Regions from separate parts of the Homo sapiens genome. Here all the other regions are linked to region 1. The links are contacts of gene promoters, found by promoter capture Hi-C in blood cells and fetal thymus (Javierre and others, 2016). All regions are on one chromosome and are shown on one strand. Each heading gives the region's core, a stretch centred on a gene start or on the middle of the fragment in contact. The rest is flanking DNA. Distances are from core to core; before and after follow the strand shown.

What was found. The method cuts DNA at HindIII sites, captures the fragments that hold promoters and counts their contacts. A CHiCAGO score of 5 or more calls a contact.
Region 2: a contact is called between a fragment that was not itself captured here and the fragment with the promoter of NACA2 in region 1, in 1 of 17 cell types (erythroblasts). The highest score is 5.3, in erythroblasts.
Region 3: a contact is called between a fragment that was not itself captured here and the fragment with the promoter of NACA2 in region 1, in 1 of 17 cell types (erythroblasts). The highest score is 5.2, in erythroblasts.
Region 4: a contact is called between a fragment that was not itself captured here and the fragment with the promoter of NACA2 in region 1, in 1 of 17 cell types (erythroblasts). The highest score is 5.4, in erythroblasts.
Region 5: a contact is called between a fragment that was not itself captured here and the fragment with the promoter of NACA2 in region 1, in 5 of 17 cell types (M1 macrophages, naive CD8 T cells, M2 macrophages and 2 more). The highest score is 6.7, in M1 macrophages.
Region 6: a contact is called between a fragment that was not itself captured here and the fragment with the promoter of NACA2 in region 1, in 1 of 17 cell types (M1 macrophages). The highest score is 5.3, in M1 macrophages.
Region 7: a contact is called between a fragment that was not itself captured here and the fragment with the promoter of NACA2 in region 1, in 1 of 17 cell types (M1 macrophages). The highest score is 5.5, in M1 macrophages.

The regions. Positions count from the first base shown.
Region 1 is chr17:61,589,515-61,592,644 of GRCh38, forward strand. It overlaps NACA2 (nascent polypeptide associated complex subunit alpha 2), which reads right to left and starts at 1,705. Exons shown (of 1, transcript NM_199290.4): 1 at 907-1,705. The coding sequence starts at 1,666. The coding sequence ends at 1,019. The HindIII fragment of the contact is 7,754 bases long and covers 1-3,130 here.
Region 2 is chr17:60,773,511-60,776,640 of GRCh38, forward strand. All of the region lies in intron 6 of BCAS3 (BCAS3 microtubule associated cell migration factor), which reads left to right. Among named protein-coding and RNA genes, the nearest start is that of BCAS3, 97 kb to the left of the region's middle. The HindIII fragment of the contact is 4,331 bases long and covers 1-3,130 here.
Region 3 is chr17:60,833,381-60,836,510 of GRCh38, forward strand. The region is part of intron 7 of BCAS3 (BCAS3 microtubule associated cell migration factor); the gene reads left to right. Among named protein-coding and RNA genes, the nearest start is that of BCAS3, 160 kb to the left of the region's middle. The HindIII fragment of the contact is 1,355 bases long and covers 891-2,245 here.
Region 4 is chr17:60,856,629-60,859,758 of GRCh38, forward strand. All of the region lies in intron 7 of BCAS3 (BCAS3 microtubule associated cell migration factor), which reads left to right. Among named protein-coding and RNA genes, the nearest start is that of BCAS3, 180 kb to the left of the region's middle. The HindIII fragment of the contact is 1,511 bases long and covers 909-2,419 here.
Region 5 is chr17:60,967,828-60,970,957 of GRCh38, forward strand. All of the region lies in intron 14 of BCAS3 (BCAS3 microtubule associated cell migration factor), which reads left to right. Among named protein-coding and RNA genes, the nearest start is that of BCAS3-AS1, 170 kb to the right of the region's middle. The HindIII fragment of the contact is 4,247 bases long and covers 1-3,130 here.
Region 6 is chr17:61,007,263-61,010,392 of GRCh38, forward strand. All of the region lies in intron 15 of BCAS3 (BCAS3 microtubule associated cell migration factor), which reads left to right. Among named protein-coding and RNA genes, the nearest start is that of BCAS3-AS1, 130 kb to the right of the region's middle. The HindIII fragment of the contact is 591 bases long and covers 1,393-1,983 here.
Region 7 is chr17:61,030,958-61,034,087 of GRCh38, forward strand. The region is part of intron 16 of BCAS3 (BCAS3 microtubule associated cell migration factor); the gene reads left to right. Among named protein-coding and RNA genes, the nearest start is that of BCAS3-AS1, 100 kb to the right of the region's middle. The HindIII fragment of the contact is 234 bases long and covers 1,332-1,565 here.

The DNA.
Region 1 (3,130 bases), core at 455-2,954:
GTAAACTTTCCTGAGGAAATGATTTTGAAGCCGAGATTTGAAAGATGACTAGGAATGTTCCAGGTAGAGGGAACAGCATGTGTAAACGCTTGAGGGCAAGGGAGTGTGATGTTGCAGGAACTGAAAGACGTTCAGTATGACCAGAGCATTTAGGGGAATAGCAGAAAACTGTCAGAGGCCAGACCATACAAGGCCTAATAAGCCACATGAAGAGTTCAGACTATTTCAGTTGCTCATACACTAAAGAAGGGATATGCAACTCTGGTTGCAGAATGGATCGGACAGAAGAGAGACTGGAGGTAGAGAGACGGTTTAGTAGGTTATTAGGAAAATCTGGGAGAGGATGATGGCAGTAGAGACACAGAGAGGTGCATGAATCTGAGAAATGCTCAGGAGGCAGTAGCAATAGGACTTGAAGATTTACTGGGTGCCAGAGATTTTAAAGGATAGGGAAGAGCTAAGGATGAGTATCGAGTAGCTGGTTTGGGAATGAAGGGTATGATGGTGACTTTCACTGAGCTGGGGACACTGGAGAAGGAGCTCTAGTCATCCGGTAGAGGAGAGATGATGAGTATACTTCTGGCTATCCTGTGATTGAGGTGCCGGGAGAGTATCCAAGGAAAGACGGTAAGTAGGTGGCTGGATATCCAAATCTGTGTCTTAGGACAAAGATGGGACTGAAACTATTTGAGGATCATCAGCAAGAGAAATGAATCTGATCACCTATGTTGAGTGTGCAGAGTGAAAAGAACACAAGGCCTTGGAAAGACCCCTGAGATGCACTAATATTTAAGAACTGGGTAGAAGAAAAGATGACCACAAAGGAAACTGAAGAATAAGCCAGGGAAGAAGGTAGATCCGGAGAGTACGGCACTTGGAGACCAAAAAAAGAGAGCATTTCTTTTCTTTTCTTTTTCCAGCAAGAAGTCATAACTTTATTTATGATAGAAACAGTACAAATTTCAAACCAAGCTGCAGTTACTCCTTTGAGACACCAAAAAAAGTTGCTTTCAGATGGTTACACTGTTAATTCCATAATCGCATTTACAATATCATTACTGTTGTTCTTCAGAGCTCGGACTGCCTTTGCTCTCGACACATTTGCTTGTGACATGACCAATTTCACGTCTTTAACTTCTACACCTGTTTCATCGACCTCTTCCTCTTCACTCTCCTCTTGTACAGTTGGAGTCTGTGTGTTTTCTTGAATGTTTCCGACAGCTTCACCTTGAACTCTGAATTTCTCCGCAGCTGCTAGTTGTGCTTGCTGAGATAAATCTTGGATCTTGGCTTCCCCAAAAACTATGTAGGCATCCGAAGCAGGGCTCTTGTAGACGTCCAGTTTTGTGATGACAAAGAGGATATTCTTAGATTTCCAGATAGTGACTCTAGTAACTCCTGTAACCTGTAGAAGACCCAGTTTGGACATAGCCTTCCGTGCCCTCTTTTCACTCCGACTCTGTTTTGCTTTACCGACTGGTTCTTCATCAATTTCAGCTGCTGCCACCAGCCAGGCTTTTTGTGTGGTGGTCTGGGTGGAATCCTGTTCTTCAATCCCTGGTACTGATTCACCACTATCAGATGCTGTTCCAGACCCTGTCTCAGCCTGGGACTGCGGCAACTCCTGCTCTGTAGCAGGGACGGTTTCTGTGGCTTCGCCCGGCATTTTGTGCAGGGAACGCGGAAGCAAGATGGCGGCAGAAAGAGCGCGAGCGAGAGCGTGACCCACGCTTGTTGCAGCGGGAAGCAAAAAGAGAGCATTTAAAAAGACATTTGTCAGCAGTGCTACACTGCCATGAGGTCAAGTTGGAATGGAAAAGGATCTATTGGATTTAGAGACTGTAAGTTACGCGGTCTGAGTGGTGCGGTGTGAGTGGCACTTGGGAATTGGTTAATGGTCAGTTCCTTGAAAAAATGACTAAATTGGGGAATCATTTTTTAAAATTTACATTATTTAACATGCTGTTTTAACTGAAAACATATCACTGTACTTTTATTTGCCAATCTTTTGATAGGAGCCGTAAACCTTTCTTTGAGTATTATCTGTTTATTGGAATTCAGCCTCGGTTTTCTCACATAAATCATATCTATAAAGGTATTGTCTATCATTCCCTGTTTTAGTTTATTTAAAATAGACCAAGAACTCAAAGGTGCTCATGAAGCAATCTGAACGCAGAATCCTAGATATGTATGGTTTCCCTCGATCTTTTCTTGCTCCCCCAATGAATGGAAAATTGTAAATGTTTCCAAACCATTCAATTTAATTTGCACAGAAACAACTATTTTATTTTTTCTATTTATATTTCATATAACAGTTATATAATGAGTTTACGTAATAATCAGTTAAATTACATAATTATAGTAATAAGAATACCCAGCATAAATAGGTTAAATAAACACAACTGATTCTTGGTAAGCCTATAACTGTATAGAGAAAACAAAAAATCCATAGAAAAGAAAACCAAAAAACAAAAATCCGCGTATGTACTAGGCAGTAGCACGTTAGCTATAGAGTGTGCCGTTGGCTTCCACCAATATGTTTCACGAAGGCAACAGAGAGTATCAGTCAATTTGCATTATGTTGGCTAAATATACGTTAAGAGAGTTTTTGCTTTAGTTACAGGGGATGACTCAGAAGGCAGTTAGATTGCAGTGGGCTGAGAAGTAGGAATTGAAGAAATGGAAAGATTGGATTAGATCAGAGTACTCTTATAAGAAGTTTAACTGTGCGGGAGGAGACAGTGCAGTAGCTGAAGACATAATTATAGTTGGCGGATAGGTAAACACATATTCTTCCTAAGAAGAGACCTGAGCATGTTTAAATTCTAAAAGGAGTAGTTAAATACAAATGAAAGAGGGAAGTTGATCAGTCAAGGTTCTGAGGAGCCAGGAATGAAATCCATGGCACAAGTAGAACGACTAATCTTGAATAGCAGGAAAGGCATCCTTTTCATTGTAATAGGAGGAAAGAAGAAAAATATGGATTTGGGTGCAAGCAGATTTTTAGGTTTGGTAGCACGATGTCAAAGGAGTTCCCATCTGGTAACATTTATTTTTTTTTTTTTCTAAGAGGCTAGAGGAGCTGTCTGCTGAGAGTGAGGGGAAGGCAAGAGAGTTAAAGGTTTATGTA
Region 2 (3,130 bases), core at 324-2,823, 820 kb before region 1:
TTAAACTCTCGGACTCAAACCATCTGCCTATCTCAGCCTCACAAAGTACTGGGATTATAGGCATGAGCCACCACACCCAGCCAACTGTTGAGGTCTTTAACCTATTTTTTCATCAGGTTTTTTTCTTATTGTTGAGTTTTTTTTTATTTATTCTTGAGACAGGGTCTCATCCTGTTGTCCAGGCTGGAAAGCAGTGGCGTGATCATGGCTCACAGTTGCCTCTGCCTCCCAGGGTCACGTGATCCTCCTGCCTCAGTGTCCCAAGTAGTTGGGACCACAGGCGCACGCCACCATGCCTGGCTAATTTTTGTATTTTTTTGGAGACAGGTTCTCACCGTATTTCCCAGGCTGGTCTCGAACACCTGCACTTAAGTGATTGGCCTGCCTTGGTCTCCCAAAATGTTGGATTTACAGGTGTGAGCCACTTTGCCCGGCCTTACTGTTATGTTCGTTGTGTGTTTTAGATAATAGTCCTTTATCAGATAAGGCTTTTGGAAATATCTTCTACCTATGGCTTGTCTTCTTATTTTCTTTACAATGCCTTTTACAAACCGTATTAAAATATTTTCTTTCCTTCCTCTGCATGGATTTTAGCTCACTTGATGTCGTTTCACAACTCACTGATGCTCTGATCACTTTTGAAGTCTTTCCCTCCCCTCTTGTTCCAGTAGTTTCTATTGGTGCCTCTTCATGTTTCTTCATGTTTTTTTTCTGCAGTATCTAATGTTGTTAACCCATCCAGTGTATTTTTTTCTCTCAGACACTGCATTTTTCACTTACAATTTGCGTGTACATGTGCATGTGTGTGTGCAGAGACAGAGATCTTCCATGTGCCTGGAGACATGTTCACTTTCCTCTCCTTGAATAAATGGAATATGTTTATCATAGGAATTTTAATGTGGTTATCTAATTTGATTCTGTTGATTGATTTTTCTCCTTATTATGGGTTGTATCTATTCCTGCTTCTTTGCATGACTTAAAATTTTTGTTTGGATGCCACACATTTTGAATTTTGTGTTGCTCAGGACTATTTTGTATTCCTTTAAATATTTTTGGTTTTGTCCTGGGACACAGTTAAACTACTTGGCAATAATTTTATTCTTTCAATACTTTCTCTTACTCTTTGTTAGGTATTCCTAGAATAGCCATTAGTCTAGAGCAGGGGTCTGTAGACATTTTCTTAAGAGAGCTAGATAGTATTTTAGGCTTGTGGGCCATCTGTCCTGACTATTCCACTATTCATCTCTGCCCTATTGGGCAAAAGCAGCCATTGACAATACTCAAATGAATGAGTGGTAAGTTGGGGCATTCACAGGGCTCACATCAATTGTTTCCCTTGTCTCAAGGATCACTGTCCTGGGCTGCGTGTTGTTGGATGTCTGAAACTGTTTTTTATATATTTTATCTGTTTCTTAAGTTTTCCTGGCAGGAGGGTAAATCTGATCTGCTGCAGAGGTTCAGCATTTTGCCTTAGTTCCTTGTTTTGGATGACTTAAGAGTGCTTAGGATAGCGCTTGGCATGTAGTAAAAGTCCTATGTGAGTTTTTATAAATAAAGAAAAAAATAAATTTCAAATTGAATTTCATTTGTAAGACAGTTTAAAAATTTTAATGTATCTTTGGAGAAGTTAAGTTTCAAACACTTTGAAAGATGCAGGCATTATAGAGAAATTTCTGGAGGTATCATAGCATTAATTGTGGGGTTTTTTTTCTCTCGGGTGCTAGATGCAGTAGCAAAAGAAAGTGATAAAAACACCAAGGGATTCCTTTATTTCTTTTGATCTCATGAATAGGTAAAGGAGTCTTAAACTTTCCTTCTCCTCTTAACTATCAACAAGGGACTACTATGATTCTTGCCTTTCAGAGTCTGGCATCATTTTTTTCTTTCCCCATGATGCTTTTAGTCTTAACAACAAGAAGTGTGGGCCTCCATGTTATCATTTAAACTATCTTTTTGGCATCTACTGTTTAGTTTAACCTAGTTTTCACTGAATTTTTTTCTCTTGTTGTTGTTACTGTACTTTGCAGTTTTTATGTATATATAGGTTTACCTTGGGAATATTTCAGAATTTCTTTTTTTTTTTCATTTGTAGAACATGGAAATAATCTAATTTGAGGCCAAGTGAATTTATGTAAATTTATAGTTAGCAGTAACAACCAGACACACTAATAAAAACCTTCTAATATTAAAAGAAGGAAAACAAAAACCGTGTGTGCAAAGGAATGATCCGCACAAATTATAGGATACTGACTACCTGGCAGTGGGTAGTAGGGTTTGGGATGTATGAGTCTATATAAGTAAATGAAAGTTTTTGGCAGTGTTTTACTTCTTATGGATGAGGGGGTCATAGGTGTTTATTATTAAAGTATAAAGAAGAGGTCCATGCATTCATTGAGAAGAAATGAACCAAGAATTATGAATGGTCTAATTCTTTGTACTCAGTGCTCAAAGTGGAGAGGAGAAAGATGCAAATGAGAGAAACAGAACATGCAGTCTTTATTGGATTGGAAATAAAAAATTAGAATTGTGAATTAGAGATTAAAAGCAAAGTTTTGAGTGAAGAATTTAAAGAGAGACTTATTTCCCTCTGTATGGGAAATACATACAGTATTTTGCCCTGAGAAATTTTCTTTGTATAAAGTCGTGCTTCACAGTTTGTTAATGTTTTAAATTCATCATAACAGTATTGACTCAGTTTTGTACTTTTAAAGTAATCTGTGTGTGTGTGTATAGATGTATATGTATACTCTCTAATCAGAATGACTCCATATATAGAGCTAATATCAGCTGTTGGTATTTTATTCATATTTTTGAAAATGCCAGTATAATATCTCACATTAGTTGTTTAACCTTTATACATTAATATTAGTTTTCCAAATGTAACTAATGTCCTTCTTTAACCTATCTTATAACAATATAAGAACAAATGGCTGTGCGCGGTGGCTCACGCCTGTAATCCCAGCACTTTGGGAGACCGAGGCTGGCGGATCACAAGGTCAGGAGTTCGAGACTAGCCTGACCAACATAGTGAAAACCCATCTCTACTAAAAATACAAAAATTAGCCAGGCATGGTGGCGTGCACCTGTAATCCCAGCTACTCAGGAGGCTGAGGCCGGAGAATCGCTTGAA
Region 3 (3,130 bases), core at 318-2,817, 760 kb before region 1:
CCTAAAGAAATAGTTTTAATTTTTAAAAGCAGAATGCTGTGAGTTTTCTTGATCCTAGGCAATAAGAATTGTAGTGAAATCCCAAATTTCTTTCAAGATTGTGTCAGAAACTCACAGTTGCTGTGGTTACAGATTGCTTCATTATAACCTTAGTATTTTGCATTTTGCACACTTATACTTTTGCATTGCATCTGTGACCATTCATTCATATAGTAGTTTTGTGAATTGTGAATGAGGGCTATTTGTTTGAACTACCAAGTTTCAAAATTATGTTACAAACAATTTATTTTTATTTCGTTCGGTACATATGTTTACAAAAACTTTAATCAGTGGTAAGGCACTTATATATTTTCACTTCACGTATTCTTTCAAAACTGTAATTATCCACATTTGATATAATAGATATATTTTGCAACATTTGGCTTTGTCATTTGACGCCCCTTCATTTTCCGCTCAATTCCAACTGCCTTTACAAGAAAAGCCAAATAAGAAAACATTTTACTTCTCTGTCTACTATGAAAAGTAATCTGTCAAAACGTGAAACTACTTTTTAAAGCTGTATTTATATCTGTAGGTATTTGGTGCAATTTAAGTTATATTTCACTATAAAATAACTGCATATTATCATTAGAAGGATTTAAATCATCATGTGATATTTTTCTGATTCTAATAACAGGAAAGAGAAATTATACTAATGTGGCTTTATCACAAATTATGTAATATAATAACATTTATGTAAAATGAATGTAAATATTCTTACTAGTTTTCAAACAAAACATTTTATGGTACAAGAGGAATAATTTTGTTGTACTTCAATAATATGTCAGATTTCTTAGAAGTATTAATTTAGAACAGGATATTTTATTGTCTTCTTAATAAAGATAAGCAAAAGCTTAGATTTTTCTGCTATCATTTTAAGAATTGACAAGGAAAATAATTGACTATAAATTTTTACACATATCCTTCTCTAAAATGTTTCCTGTTCTGTCTTGATATAACAGGTTGTTCCTTGATTTTGAGAATTAGACTTTAAGCATAATCTATTAATTTTGGCTTTACTTCATTTCTCAGCATGTCTCAAATGCTGTGATGAACTTTGGTTACTTTGAAATGTTTAGTGAAGTGGTTTCTATTGATTTCATATGTGTACTCAAACTAATCTACATTGGTAGATTATCAAGTTTTAAGATGATACTAGAGTAATAAAACTGGGCATACTCTTTCACAGTATAGTAGTATATTTGGCCTCACTGTGCTTGCTTGGCAGAAGATGGTATAATTAACATCTTTTTATGAGTTGAGCTAGACTTTAGTATCCTCATTTCAAGTACCCCATGTTTTTTTGTTAGCTATGGTTGTGTGTATCTGTTAATATGAAAAATGACTCTGTATTTTTTTGTTTATCATAACTGATAAGGAGTTTTAAGTTATATTGCTTTTAGGGAAATAAATCCCGGCAACATCTTGCTTTTTGTGGTTGTTAGTGCTTCTACTATAACCAACTTATAAATTTTCCCTAGTATATTCTTTTAGTTTTCAAAAGTTCCTTATAATAGTATGACTCAAAACTAACTGTACATGATTTTTAGGGAACTTTATGATGTATTTCTTTATCATTAACTAAAATTTTAATGTTTAATTTTTAACTGGTCTGTTTTGCCTCTCTATTCTTCTGTATTCCTCTGCCAGCAGTTTCTGCACTTTTGTTATCTATCAGAAGAAAGCGATAAAATAGGAAAGTACAATAGAATCTTCTAATGGACATTAAATTCATATATCTTCCAAAATTAAAAAATAATGAACAATTTATTAATATTTTTGCTATTAAAGCTATAAATATATTTTTCTTTTACATGTGGATTTACAATATGAGATTTTTAGTATCCTGAATTACTACTTTCAAACAGTACACTGTAACAGTTATGCTATTATTATGGCTGATTATATTATCTACTACATGAATACCGAAGGCAGATTTGTTAGTTTTTTCTTTGGTTATTTGGAAACCTGATGTTACTGAAGTCAAGGTTGAAACTTCAGTCTTCTTTTACTTCTCTTCTTCATCTATAAATAGATTTCCTAATCAACCAGTAAATGAGTATCAGCAACTTAAATATTACATGTTTTAGCAACCAAAATCTTTGCTATTGTTAGAAACATTTCCACTGGTAGTTTATTGCTGAATATTAAAGATTAAAGTGTTCCTTTTTTAAAATTTGAAGATTGAATCAAATGTTTAAAGAAAAGCTTTTCTTATCAGGCCATGGTTGCTGCAATAAAAGAAAGAAAGAGAGGCTTTCCTGTATAAAGTTTTACCTACATCATAGGGTTATTGGAAAGGTTAAATGAAATAGTACTTGTAAAGCCTTTATAACAATGGGTGGTATTTATCAAATGTACAATATTCATATTCTCGTGATGAAATTATAGATATTATACAGCAGTAACAGATATTAGCCTTATTAGAAAAGCAAGATTCACAAAAGGTAGAATGTCAAACATTTTAGGATGTTTGTTTCAGAAATGGAATTTTCCCAAGTATGTCTCCTGAATTTCTCATTTAGTCATTAATTGTTTAGACTTTTAAATGAATTTTAAAAAATGGATTCTCTAAAAAAATTTTATCCTCTCAGCTTTTTTGGGAGATTTTTAGAGGAGTTTTAGGGTCACAGCAAAATTGAGTGGAAGATACAGAAAGTTCCCACATATCTCCTGCCCGCATACATTTATAGCCTCTGCCATTATCAACAGTCCCCACTAGAGTGGTACATTTGTTATAGTTGATGAACCTACATTGACACATTGACACATCATTATCACCCAGATTCCATAGTTCACATTAAGGCTCACTCTTGGTGTTATACATTCTGTGGGGTTGGATAATTGTATCAGACAGAGTGATTAAATCTTTTAACAGATAGTTAACATTAATTCTCTTAATTCTTTTCTTAATTTTTAATTAATTCTTTTAACAAGTAGTACTAATGCTCAACATACAACAGTGAGCGAGACTTAATCTCTGCCCTCCGGAAGCTTATACGGTAGTTCTTTTTAGCGAAAGAACTTGTAAGTCCGAAAAATGTACAGATGGCATTAACTAGAGTGTTTAGTTCTGTTGTTTGCGTTCCTT
Region 4 (3,130 bases), core at 414-2,913, 730 kb before region 1:
AGCAGTGAGCCAAGATCCAGCTACCGCACTCCAGCCTGGGCGATACAGCCAGACTGTCTCCAAAAAAATAAAAAAAAAATTATAGATTCATTTAGATGAAAATGTTTAGTGACTTCTTGTTGATTTTTGTCTTCTATATTTATAATATTTTTCCTTTTAAGAAATCTGGTTTAAATATTTTGTTTTATAGTTCATAATTACTTAATTTAACCTTTTAATTTTCAATAAAAGAAGCATTTTTTGAAATTTGTTCTTTAAATACTTTTAATTAACCCTCTTCACTGTAATGAATTCACTGTGTAAATTCCATACCTTTGGCTGTTGTAATATATAAAAATGAGGACCTTTTCCTCCCTAATAAAATCTTAATAACTTCCTTTATGGGTATGGGTCAAATGTACAGTAGGTAACAGATTGTTCTGATAAAATTTCAACACACATGCTCAGTAATTCACTATAAAACAAGTTACTTACATAAAGAAAAGGTCAGTTAAAGAGAATTTGCATTCATTTCTATTTACATTTATCATGAATAGTGTAAAATGCCTTTACTATGCATTTTTATATGTATATATGGGATCCTGGGCACAAATTACAGATTTTTAAAGAAGCATTTATTAATAAAAATTGCATCCTTCCTGCCTTTCCTACAGCCTCTGATATTTGCTTACAGTAGATTCAGTTACATTCTAAACTTGGCTCTAAAAACTTCTTCTAGGAACTTCCCCCCACTTTATGCTATTAGGTTTACCTTTAAGGTCATAGCCCCATGTTTAAATGTCAAACACAATCCTTTAAAAATAATCCATTAGAGCTCTGTAGAAGTCACATGAAGACTGTATTCTGTGTAAAACTTTCTTGTGGCACTGTTTTCTACACCATTTTTGGCTTGTATGATAGAAAATAAAAGCTTGTTTCATGTCTGTCTATTTTAGTATAACACCTTATGGGGCATGCATACTGATTATTTTATGGAAAGCACTCTCATCAGCCTGCCCATGAGGAAAATTAAGATTGTCTTGCTATGTTCCATGGAAATGGTCAAGGCTTTTCAAAAGAGAAAACAGAGAACAAAAGAATATGTCGGGCGTGCACCCAACTGTGTTATTGGCAGGAAACGTGCTGACTCCTTTGTGAATGTGTGAATTTGTGAAGACCCTTATTTTAAAGAATTATCTTTTCCTATTAGTTGTTGAATGAGAGGTTTTTCTCATATATAAATAGTTTATGGTTCTGACAAATTTTGTTCAGTTATCTATAAACTGAGCTTTCGTAACATTTGTTTTGTCTGTTTCTAATGAAGGCTTGTTGCATGAAGATTCTCAGTTGTGACATTGTATGGATGATGCCAGTGAAGTGATCGGAGTTCCAGTATCTAGTGTGTTGTAGCCATCATGAGCTCCTAATTGAAGGCGACAGGCTGCTTTTTTCCCCTCCTAGTTGGTCAGGCAAAATGTTAGATTTCATTCATTATTAACTCATTCCTTATCAGCAGAGGACTGGATTAATTTGTAGGGAACATAAATAATTTTTGCTTTGTGTCAATTTTAGAGATTGAAGTTCAGGCTTATACAAGATTCTCTCCCACCTCCAGTTGTTCCAATTGTATGCATTTGTGTAACTACCATCATAAAAATGATACACTAACATTTCTGTCACACCAAAAGTTTCTCGTGCCACTTTGTGCTCCATACCTTCCTCCTTTCCCTCTCTCTTGCAACACTGATTTGCTTCCTATTATTATAGTTGTGGCTGTTGTTTTTTTTTTTAACTTTTCATAGAAGGGACTCATACAGTGTGTAGACTTTTATGTATAGCTTCCCTACTCCCACAGTCATGGTATTGAGATTCACTTTTGTTGTTTTATAGATAATTTGTTCTTTTTAAATGCTGAGTACTTTTCATTGCATTAATATGTAACTGTCCATTCACCTATTGATGGACATTTAATTGTTTCTAGGCTTTTTATTATGGCTAATAAAATACCTAGTTGTGACATATGGAAAATGTATGTTTAATTTTTTTACAAACTGGTAAACTATTTTTCAGAGTGACTGTACCATTTTGCGTCTCCAGCAGTAATGTGTGAGGGCTTCAATTAGTTTGCATTCTTGCCATAACTTTGTACTACTAGTTTTTAAAATTTTAGTCATTCTATTGGGTGTAGTGGTATCCATTAGTGGTTTCAACTTGCATTTCCCTGATAATTAAATATGTTGAACATCTTTTCATGTGCTTACTTGCTATCTGTATATCTTCTTTAATCAAGTATCTTTAAACATATTAGGGCCATTAAAAAACTGTATTCTTCTTTTTGCTTCTACAACAGTTATCATAGAATTATCGTCATTTTATTTATTATGAACACCTTTATTTTTTATTTTTCATGCATGAAATCATTTATTTTAGAGCTAATGTAAGCTTAGCCCACATTATAATGTTATAACATTAATTTTAATGCTGACATTAAAATTAAACATTAAAACAACATTGATACAGAAAATAAACATATGACTTAATATGTACAAGAGAGTTAGCAAGAAAAACTTGATAAATAATTTTTTTTCCAACTTTTATTTTAGGTTCTGGGGGTACGTGTTCAGGTTTGTTACATCAGTAAATTGTATGTCACTGGAGTTTGGTGTACAGATTATTTTGTCACCCAGGTAGTGAGCATAGTACCCGATAGGTAGTTTTTTGATCCTCACTCTACTTCCACCCTCCTCCCTCAAGTAGGCCCCGGTGTCTGTTGTCCCCTTCCTTGTGTCCATGTGAATTCATTGTTTAGCTCCCACTTAGAAGTGAGAGCATTCTGTATTAGGTTTTCTGTTCTTGCATTAATTCGCTTAGGATAATGGCCTCCAGCTGCATTTATGTTGCTGCAAAGGACACGATTTTGTTCTTTTTTATGCTGTGTAGTATTCTGTGGTGAATATGTACCACATTTTTTTTTTTTTGAGATGGAGTCTCGCTCCTGTCGCACAGACTGGAGTGCAGTGGTGTGATCTCAGCTCACTGCAACCTCCACCTCCCAGGTTCAAGCGATTCTCCTTCCTCAGCCTCCTAAGTAGCTGGGATTACAGGTGTGCACGACCACGCCCAGCTAATTTTTGTATTTTTAGTAGAGATG
Region 5 (3,130 bases), core at 202-2,701, 620 kb before region 1:
GAGAGTCTCTGATGACTTCTTCAGTTCAGCAAATATGTTTCTCAGTTCCAAGATTTCTATATTTTTTCCCAATCTCTTTGTTAAATTTCTCTGATAAATTTCTGAATTGCTTTTCTGTGTGTTTGTTGTTGTTGTTGTTGTTGTTGTTGTTTTGGAGATCACTGAGTTTTCTTAAAACTGCTATTTTGAATTCTTGGTCAGAGGGCTCACAGATCACTCTTTCATTAGGGTCTGTCACTGGAGTTTTGCTTTGTCCATTGGAGAGGTCATAATTCCCTACTTGCTGTTGTTTTTTTCGTGTGTATATCTGTATCTTTGCATTGATACTTTATTTCAGTTTTATCTGTCTACCTTGTTTTGATTTTATTGGGTATATTTTGCTTAGTGCATTTTTTTTAATCCTTTTAGAGTCAGGGCTCATTTTGTTGCCCAGGCTGGAGTACAGTGGTGCAGTCATTGCTCACTGTAATCTTGAACTCTTGGGCTGGAGCAATCCTCTAACCTCAGCCTCCTGAGTAGCTAGGACTACAGGCACGTGACACCATACCTGGCTAACTTTAAAAAGAATTTTTTTTGTTGTTGTTGTTAGAGACAGACTCTCATTGTGTTGCCCTGCCTGTCACAAACTCCTGGCCTGAAGTGATCCTCTCACCTGCCTTGGCCTTTCAAGGCACTGGAATTACAAGCATGAGGCAGCGTGTCTGGCCTGTTAGTGAATCTTTACAGCTAAGTTGTTGCCTTTTTTTTTTGGATATAGGTGGTACCTAAAGCCCAGGTTCACCTTGGCTCTGCTAAATGATTGTAGTACTGCCTATCCTGATTTGGGAGCATCCCAAAGTGGTTATCCCCACAGTGTGTCAAGTCTGGCTAGGGGTTTGTGCCCAGGGACCTTTGTAATGTATTGCCTACTACATGGTGCTGCTGAACAGCCACTCTAATTTGGTGTCTCCTTTGGCCAAGTAATGGAACAAAGTTTCCAGGGCTAGGGATGGTAGTCTAGCCTCCCCACTTTGTCTTGGCCTGTCCTCAGGGTTGTTTCTCCCATCAGGCAGCCACGATACTTCCTGCCAGTTAAGGCAAGGATAGTTTTCCTGCCAGAGCACCCAAGATGGTGGGAAAGCTGGTTTACCACCTCAGTCTCACTTTTTCCAGTATAGTCACCATGAGTTGGGGGGGGAGATTTTCTGTGCTCTTGATGCCAGGCAGAATCGGGGGAGGGGCATTACAGATCTGGAAGTCTGAATCTCTTACCATTCACTCTGAGGTTTTCTTTTTCACTTCTCTGTGGCCTCAGGAATTGTCTCATCCTCATATTTGAGTTCTGAGTGTTTCTGGTTAAAATCTCGGTACTATATATTTGTTTTTGGTTTTCTGCAGGGGTAGTGAAGCCAGCTAGCTTCTATACCACCGTTTTGGAACTGGAAGTCTCCATCTTCTAGTAGAAATTATTTTAAAGCATCTATTATTACTATGCTCAGTGATATGAAGGAAAATATGCTTCTTTTAAATAAAAGGGTAGGAAATGTCAGCAGAGAAAGAGAAAATATAGGAAATTACCTAGTGAAAAGTCTACAACTTAAAAATACAATATCAAAAATAAAAATGAAATGGATGTGTTAATAGCAGAATTTGAGTGAGTAAATGAATTTGCAGATAGATCACTAGAAATTTCCAAACCAAATGAGTGAAAAAATAGAAAATAAGTAGAGCCTTAGCAACTTGTGGGACAATATCAGAGCCAACATACATGTAGTTATTGCAGAAGGTGAGGAGAGTAAGGGAGGAAAAAAAATCTAAAAGTGGGAAACTTTCCACTTTTGTTGAAAGACATACATTTACAACTTCAAAAAGATAAGCAAACAACACATAAGATTAAGTACAACAAAAACCATGTCAAAGGACATCATAGTCATTTTTCTGAAAACCAAAGTAAGGAGGAAATCTTGAAAGTAGGCAGACAAAAGTAATGCATTGCACACACAGAAAGTACATTTTAACACACTATTGACTTCTCACTGGAAACCATGGAAGTCAGAAGACAGTGGAATAACATGTCTGAAGGACTCAAAGAATAAAATATTGGCCACCTGAAGTTTTCCATCAAACAACAATATCTCTCAAGGATGAAGGAGCAGTAAAGGCGAGACATCCACACTGTAAATTATGCTAATGGCACATAATACCAGAAGCAAACTTGCAGCTTTAGGAAATAGTGAAGAATATGGTCATTTCTTGTTGAATAGAAAGGATGATTTTTCCCTTTTAAAAATTTGTGTCTAATATATGGGAATGATTGAATTATTTTGTTGGTATTGTATTATATGTACATGTAATACATATGACAACTATAGCACAAAGATGGAGGGTGCTAGGGTGGAGGCAGGTATATGGAGCTGTACTATTGCAAGGTTCAACATTGCTATACATAAAAAATCAATGCTTCAATGAAAATGGCATACTAAAAAATGTTCAGTTAATACAAAAGACAGGAAAGGAAAGGCAGAAGCACAAGAAAAAGAGGGATAAACAGAAAACAGATATTAAATGGTATATCAAAATTCAACCATATAGAAATTAAATATTAATGTACTCCAATATAAAGGAAGAAATTGCCTATAAGGTAGTGTTGAATATAGAGACATTAATATGATAGTAAATGTATATTAAAAGATACATCATCCAAATAAGAAACATAAGAATATTGGAAATTCAACTATATTAGTATCAACTAAAATAGAATTTAAGACAAAGCCTATTACCAGAGATATTTTGTACTGTTCAAAAGTCAAATTATCAGGAAAATTTAAATGTATGCACGTAGACTCAGTTTTAAATGCACATAATTTAAATGCATCTTGACATTTTGGGCTGTATGATAAAAAATAAAATAAATGTATGCATCTAAAACTGAGTTTTAAAATACATTAAATAAAATCAGAATTAATAGGATGAATAATTCTACAATCAGCATTGTTGATTTTAATACCACTTTCTTGATGTTGATAGAATAGAGAAAAAAGACATAAATTATTAGAGTAACACTACTAGCTACATTGGCCTATTAGATAACCAAACCCAACAACTGCAGAATACATATTATTTTCAATTATGACATCATGCCTAGTTTGAA
Region 6 (3,130 bases), core at 438-2,937, 580 kb before region 1:
TCCTAAGTTTTCAATATTCCTTGTTCTAGGCCCACCTTGTTACCTTTTGGAGTTGTGTCAACTATACTTGCTGTACTTAGAATTTTAGCAACAGGAATTATTTCTTTATGACTTTTAATTTTTAGGCATCAAATTTCTAAATTTATTGGGTTTATTTTAGCTTTAAGAAAAGAAAAATACTTAAATTTGTATGTTGTAGTAGCCAACACATTCAGATAATAATTAACAGATGATAATGGATTCACAATAGAAAAGGAAAACTACCTAGCAAATTATTTATTGGAGTATTCGTACATAAATATATACAGTTTCAATTCTCCTGAAAGTACACTTTTAATTCTAGTGACATTTAATAAGCCCTAGGCAAAGCTCCATGCAGGCTACTTTGTATGTAGTGGGGAGAAGTGATGACACTATCATTAATAATCTCAATCCCCATCCTGTTTAAAAAAAAAAAAGAAAGATTGGATTCTTGTTTTCAAGTCCATTTTGTGGGAGATTTCTCTAATCTTCCTACCTTCTCACCCTTTCTCAAAGTACCTACAGTAATGTCTATGGTGACGTGAACTTTTTACTCAAAGAAAGCAACAAGTGTTTTTGCTTGAAATGCATCAAAAATTGCAGTGTTTTTACTTCACCATCGATTGCCTCCAAAAAAAAGTTATAGGCAAAATGAATCAGTGCCCACACAGGATTGTCCTTCAGTATTTTCTGTCTTTATTTGTCACCCAAACTGTTTGTTGTGTTTATAGTCTTTAAAAATGTGTGTCTGTGTGTCGACACACACACACACACACACACATAAAATTCATTTTCTTTTAGTGTGTGTTCTACTCTCCTTGGCTCCTGTGAACAAGCATTGCTTCCGCCCAGTTTGGTATGTGGGTCAGAAGGCACTGTTTCTCACCAGGGTGCTGCTGTTTCCTTTTCCGACTTGAGTAGATTGCAGATTATACTGGAACATGCCTGAGAAAAGGTCATAAAGGAGGGTGAAAGTCCTGGAACTGCAGCTGGGAAGCTTGACATTCTCATCTAGGAAAGGGGAGAAGAGAGAGATGGAGAGAGAGACACACACTCCCATCCCAACCAAAAATAACCCACCTGCAGGAAATTCCCTTCTACACAGGGTATTTTTTGTTAAATAACTATTGAGAGTTTGGTTGAAAAAACTTTAATGTTAAATTGGATGGCAAGCAAGAACTAAGCAGTGTTTTTAACTTTTCAGAGCCCACATTTCCAGTGACTATTTCAAAACAAGCTACCATTGTATTCTTTGACAGAGTCAAGAAGTCAGAGCTTTTCAACTACAGAATTAACTTAGTTAAACTCCTTGGTATATTTTAGATTTTTATCCCTGTCAATTCCACAGCAAGATATTAAAAACAGTCCAAAAGCTTTGCTCTTCTGTAGAAGACAAAAGTTTACCAAAAAATAAAAAATAAAAAAATAAAAAAAAAGGCCCCGTAGAACTCATCATCTAGTTTTTATTTTTGAAAGATATGATATAGGGAATAGAACATCTACATGATGTCTTAGAATAGGTAAAGTGTTGCAAAGAGGGCAAAAATAAAGGAGATATTTGGGACTGGGGCTGTTTCCGTAGAATTGTCTTCTGAGGAGTGCCAGAGAGTCACATTGACCTCGGGCTTCAGTGTGGCTCAGTAATCCGATTTCAAAATGCAAGAGTTCCAAATAGGAGACCAAAGACACTAGGTGAGGAGCTTATATCCTAGAACAATAGTGGGTGTTGTAGATAAGTGTATGGAGAGGTGATGAGAACAGAATTTAATACAGTCGTAGGAGTCTAGAGTACTGAGTTATAGGAAGGTGTCTATTGTAAACCTTCAGAAAAGTGGAGTGCCTAAAGTGGATAAGGTCTGTGTCTGTGGTAAGAATAAGTGGGATGATATGTGGACCTCCTAATAACACTGCTCTTTCACAGGGCACCATTGCTTAGTGTCCTTTAGCTCTTTTTGCAAATGAAGCTTTGCCGTTTCTATACTTATCTCTAATACTCTAATACTATACTTACCTCATATGTCTAATGACAACAGAAGGACAGTGCTCTTTTTATCCTCCAAATGTTTCACTTGACCCACTTTATTCCATTGTAGGTCTTAGTTTCTCATACCTTCTGTTCCTAAAGAATCTTTCTTTGTCCTCCATTAACAATAACTTTTAGAAACCTGTAACAAAAATTTCTCTCTCTCTCTGGTATGACACTCCTTTAAGGTACTTTCTGATCTACAACTATTGTCATTTGATTCCTTAATGTTATTTTAACTGATTTTATGTCCTTTGGTTCACAATATGGTAAGATATGGAAATTTTTTAAAGGTAGAAAGGATGCAAATACATTCATTTTTTATTTTCCCTCTTCTTGTTTGTATCTCGGAAGAAAGACAACTATACATATGTACACACAGATACACTGATAGTAACTTTAATATTTAACATAATCTGAAATGTTCAACAATTTCAGTTTTGCTAGCTTCAGAGAGTTCTTGCAGTTGGCAGTTTGCCACATTCACATGTTCTCACATCACTGCATTCAGAAGCTAAGAATACCAACCTGGCAGCTTCTGCACAGAGGGTAAAGATAAAACAGAAGGGAGTCTAACTTTGCAGCCACATTACCTGGGAGTTGCTGCTGATGTCTTTTCCACAAATGTCCAAGTTTGTCAAAGCCCAGTAAATCTTAGAAAGTTTATTTTCCTTGTAGCATCTGTGTTTTATAATGGGTCTTTTAATTTGTTTTTACTTTGTCTGCAGGGATTTCTTTTGTCCGGAGTTTTCAGACTCTGTCTTTTTTTTTTTTTTTTTTTTCCTGTGGAAGTGAGTCTGTTAATGATGACTGGTTTGGGAATATGCCTCTCTGCAAAGCTGACCTGACAAGCTATTCCTCCAGCGTGGCAACAAAGCCCATTGTTATTTTCTCTGTTCACTTTTATCCTCAACTTAATCCATTTTTCTTCTGTGTTTTTATAGTATAGAATGTCTGGGAAAACATAATTTAGGACAAAGCATAAGTAAGATGGTATTTTGAAGTTAGCAAAACTTTTAGTAAACAGATCACACCATGTCATTCTCATATATGCAGACAGTGGAACTATGTGTTAGTATGGAGATT
Region 7 (3,130 bases), core at 199-2,698, 560 kb before region 1:
AAAAAAATGGATGAGTCCACATAATCAATACAGTTAAACTTTTGGGCATCAATACAAATTTAAATATTTTTCTATCATTGTATTATTAACTTAATAAATGATTAAATAAATGAGGGAAGGCATCCAAACACCCAGAGAAATTCTTTCTAAACTTGCAAATGTTCTTTAATGAGATTTTTTAAAGACCCCTTTTGGAGGAGAAAGGGAGATGTTGAGAACAAGAGAGAAAAAAAAGGTTAGCATTGGAGTGCTTTCCTATGAGGGTTGGGTCAGCAATCTGTAAATTTACATAATATACAAAGCTAGCACTTTTCTAATACATTCACGTATGTATCATTTTTCAATGTTTTATCTTTCTGTCAACAAAAGGTTATTTTGTGATAGAAATATTCTAGGTCATTGTGGAAAAGTTCATACATTGTATGTCACTGGCATATTGCTAGAAAAGCCCTTCTACTTCTGCCAAGCTTTCTTGGACTTTTAAAAACTTAGGATGAAGGGCAGATTGAACCCAAGTTAAAATTTCTAACTTTGAGTGTATCCCATAGAAGATATTTTATTCATAACGTTCTTTTTATTAGATTATTTCTCCTTTTTATTCCTCTGCAAATCTTAAAGACACACACATATTTTTATGTTTTTATTTTGCTGAAATACCACAATCATTCCAGATTATAGATTGATGATAGAAATAACTTGATATGAATGTGTTTACCCAATATGCTTCATACCCAACACACAACACTATGTTATGTAGCAGATAGCAAGTTATTTTCAGGGTGAAAACTCTTTTGACTCCTTAATAAACACAGACTTTTACTAATGAAATTTAAGGCCCTATCAGAGGAAAAAAGAAATGATGAAATATAAAAATAAAAATGGTAATTCTTTACTGAAATTAAGCATAGTTTTACCATAAAATACTTATTTTCTGTAGGAGATACTGAGCTTATGTAAAAATAACACCGTGTTGATGCTTTTTACTTGTGTGTTCCAAAACAGAATTGTATGTAACTTATAGATGTATAAGAGATTTTAGCTTTTGACATGAGCTGATTAGACTCTAAACTAGTAAACATACAAAAAATATTTTTTGTATGTCAAAAAACTAAATTGACGTCCTCTCATTTTTCTACTTTTTATTATCATGTTAGAAAGTTTGCCATCTGGCCTGGAAGCAACTATTTTTAAGTCTGTTTAGGATGCATACTTCAGAGGGACCATATTTTCTCTTAAGAAGAGGCATGCTCACTTGTTACTTACCACATGATTTAAAAACAACAACAATGACATCCAGTAATTTGCAAAGAGCTTTGAGTTTGTCCCAATGAAGCTTGTTGGTACATTGTAGTAGCTTTGTTCTCTGATGGTGATTCTAGTAAAAGCACATAGTCGCACAATTGCAAACTGCTTTCAAAAAATTCTACAATACTTTTCTCTTTCCCGTTCCCCCAGCCACCATCTTCCCAAAACTCCTAAGGATTAAAAATGACCAGTGGTACCTCAAAGATACCAGCTAGAGGAATTTGTCAGTTCAATGATAGCAGTTTAGTGATGGAAATAAAAGCTTTGAAAGAAGCCTTATATTCTCAGGTAATGCAACAGAGAGCATCATAACCAGAAAGAACAATTCTGATGCCAGTGACCCAGATATCATGGGAAGGTGCATATTTGTTCAGGTATAGGGCAGAGAAGAGTCTTCCTTTCTGGAGGTATGTTACTACAGTTGTGACAGATGCAAGTATGAAGAGGTGAAACAGTTTATAGAGCCAGATTCAGCTTCCCACAGAAACTTTTTATTTAAAAACGATGTCTTTATTCCCTGTCACTGGAAGTCTCACTGTGACTGGTTGACATTTTAGGCATGGATGTTTTTTGTTGCAGGAATAATGAGAAGTGTTTTAAGAAATGTAAATGGCAGAAGAGGTTTCTTTCATATATAGTAATATGCATTACCATGGATTTTGTTCAAAGTGGGGAGACCAAAGGGACCAATCATAGTTGCCTCTGATCCAGACTTAGCCATCCTTAGAGGAAGATGTTTAAACAAGCCTCAGGAAATAAGATGTCTGAGAGACTATTTAAAATGTCATAGGAACTGGGAAACTGAGATTACCAAAGCAAAGTCTGAATTTTTTGAAGATTAGGTTGGGGCTGAGGGCCATATAGAAAAGTTAGTATTTGCTGAGTACTGTGATATGGGAAAGTACTGCCCTGGGAACTTTACCTGCTTTGTCTAATATAGTGGTTCTCAGAGTTGAGCATGCATCAGAATCATCTGGAGGGTTTGTTTCAAAACACGGATTGTTGGGCTCCATTCCCAGAATTTCTGATTTAGTAGGTCTGGGATGGGGCCTATGAGTATTTGCTTGCACTCCTAAGAAGTCCTCAGGTGGTACTATGAGCTGGGGACAGTGCTTTGAGATAATATAATCATTAAAATAATCCTATGAAGTAGGCATTACTATTTCTATTTTACATATTAGTAGTCTGAGCTCTGAGAGGTTACATAACTTAACCAAAAGTCACACAGCTCAGAGGTGCCAGCACTGGGATTCAACTACATGTTTCTTCCTGACTCCAAAACTATCTCTTTCCATCCCACCATACTTTAGTAAAGGATGAAAACAAAAATTGAGCAAAATAAGGTAGAACTAATGTTTGACATTGGAGGCTAACTAGCAGAGAGGAACATCAGAGCTCTAGTTTTTATTGTTTCCTACCTTGGCTGTGATCTTTACCAGTGCACGATGAGGCTACTGGTTTATGAATTAGAGAAAATAATTTATCAAAGGTGATTGGCAAAATTGCTTTGGGAAGCCCTTGATAAACCAAAAGAGAACAGAAATACGGGATTGAAAAGGTGTGAGGTCGATATTAGAAGCTGAGCATGAAAACTTATTTGTGGAAAACAGAGGAGATCTACTTCTTTTGAATGGCAGTGACAGGAAGTAATGGCAGTTACTAAATGTGTCCTCAGACATATGAGCAACAGAAAAGATTTAGGTTTGAGAGGCTATTGATATGTAATTCCACCTTGGTCTTTTTCTCTGAACAAAAATAGACACATCATTTTCACAAATCCGAGAAGAAAAAGAGACAACAGGAAGATCAGTGAATATAATTGCAT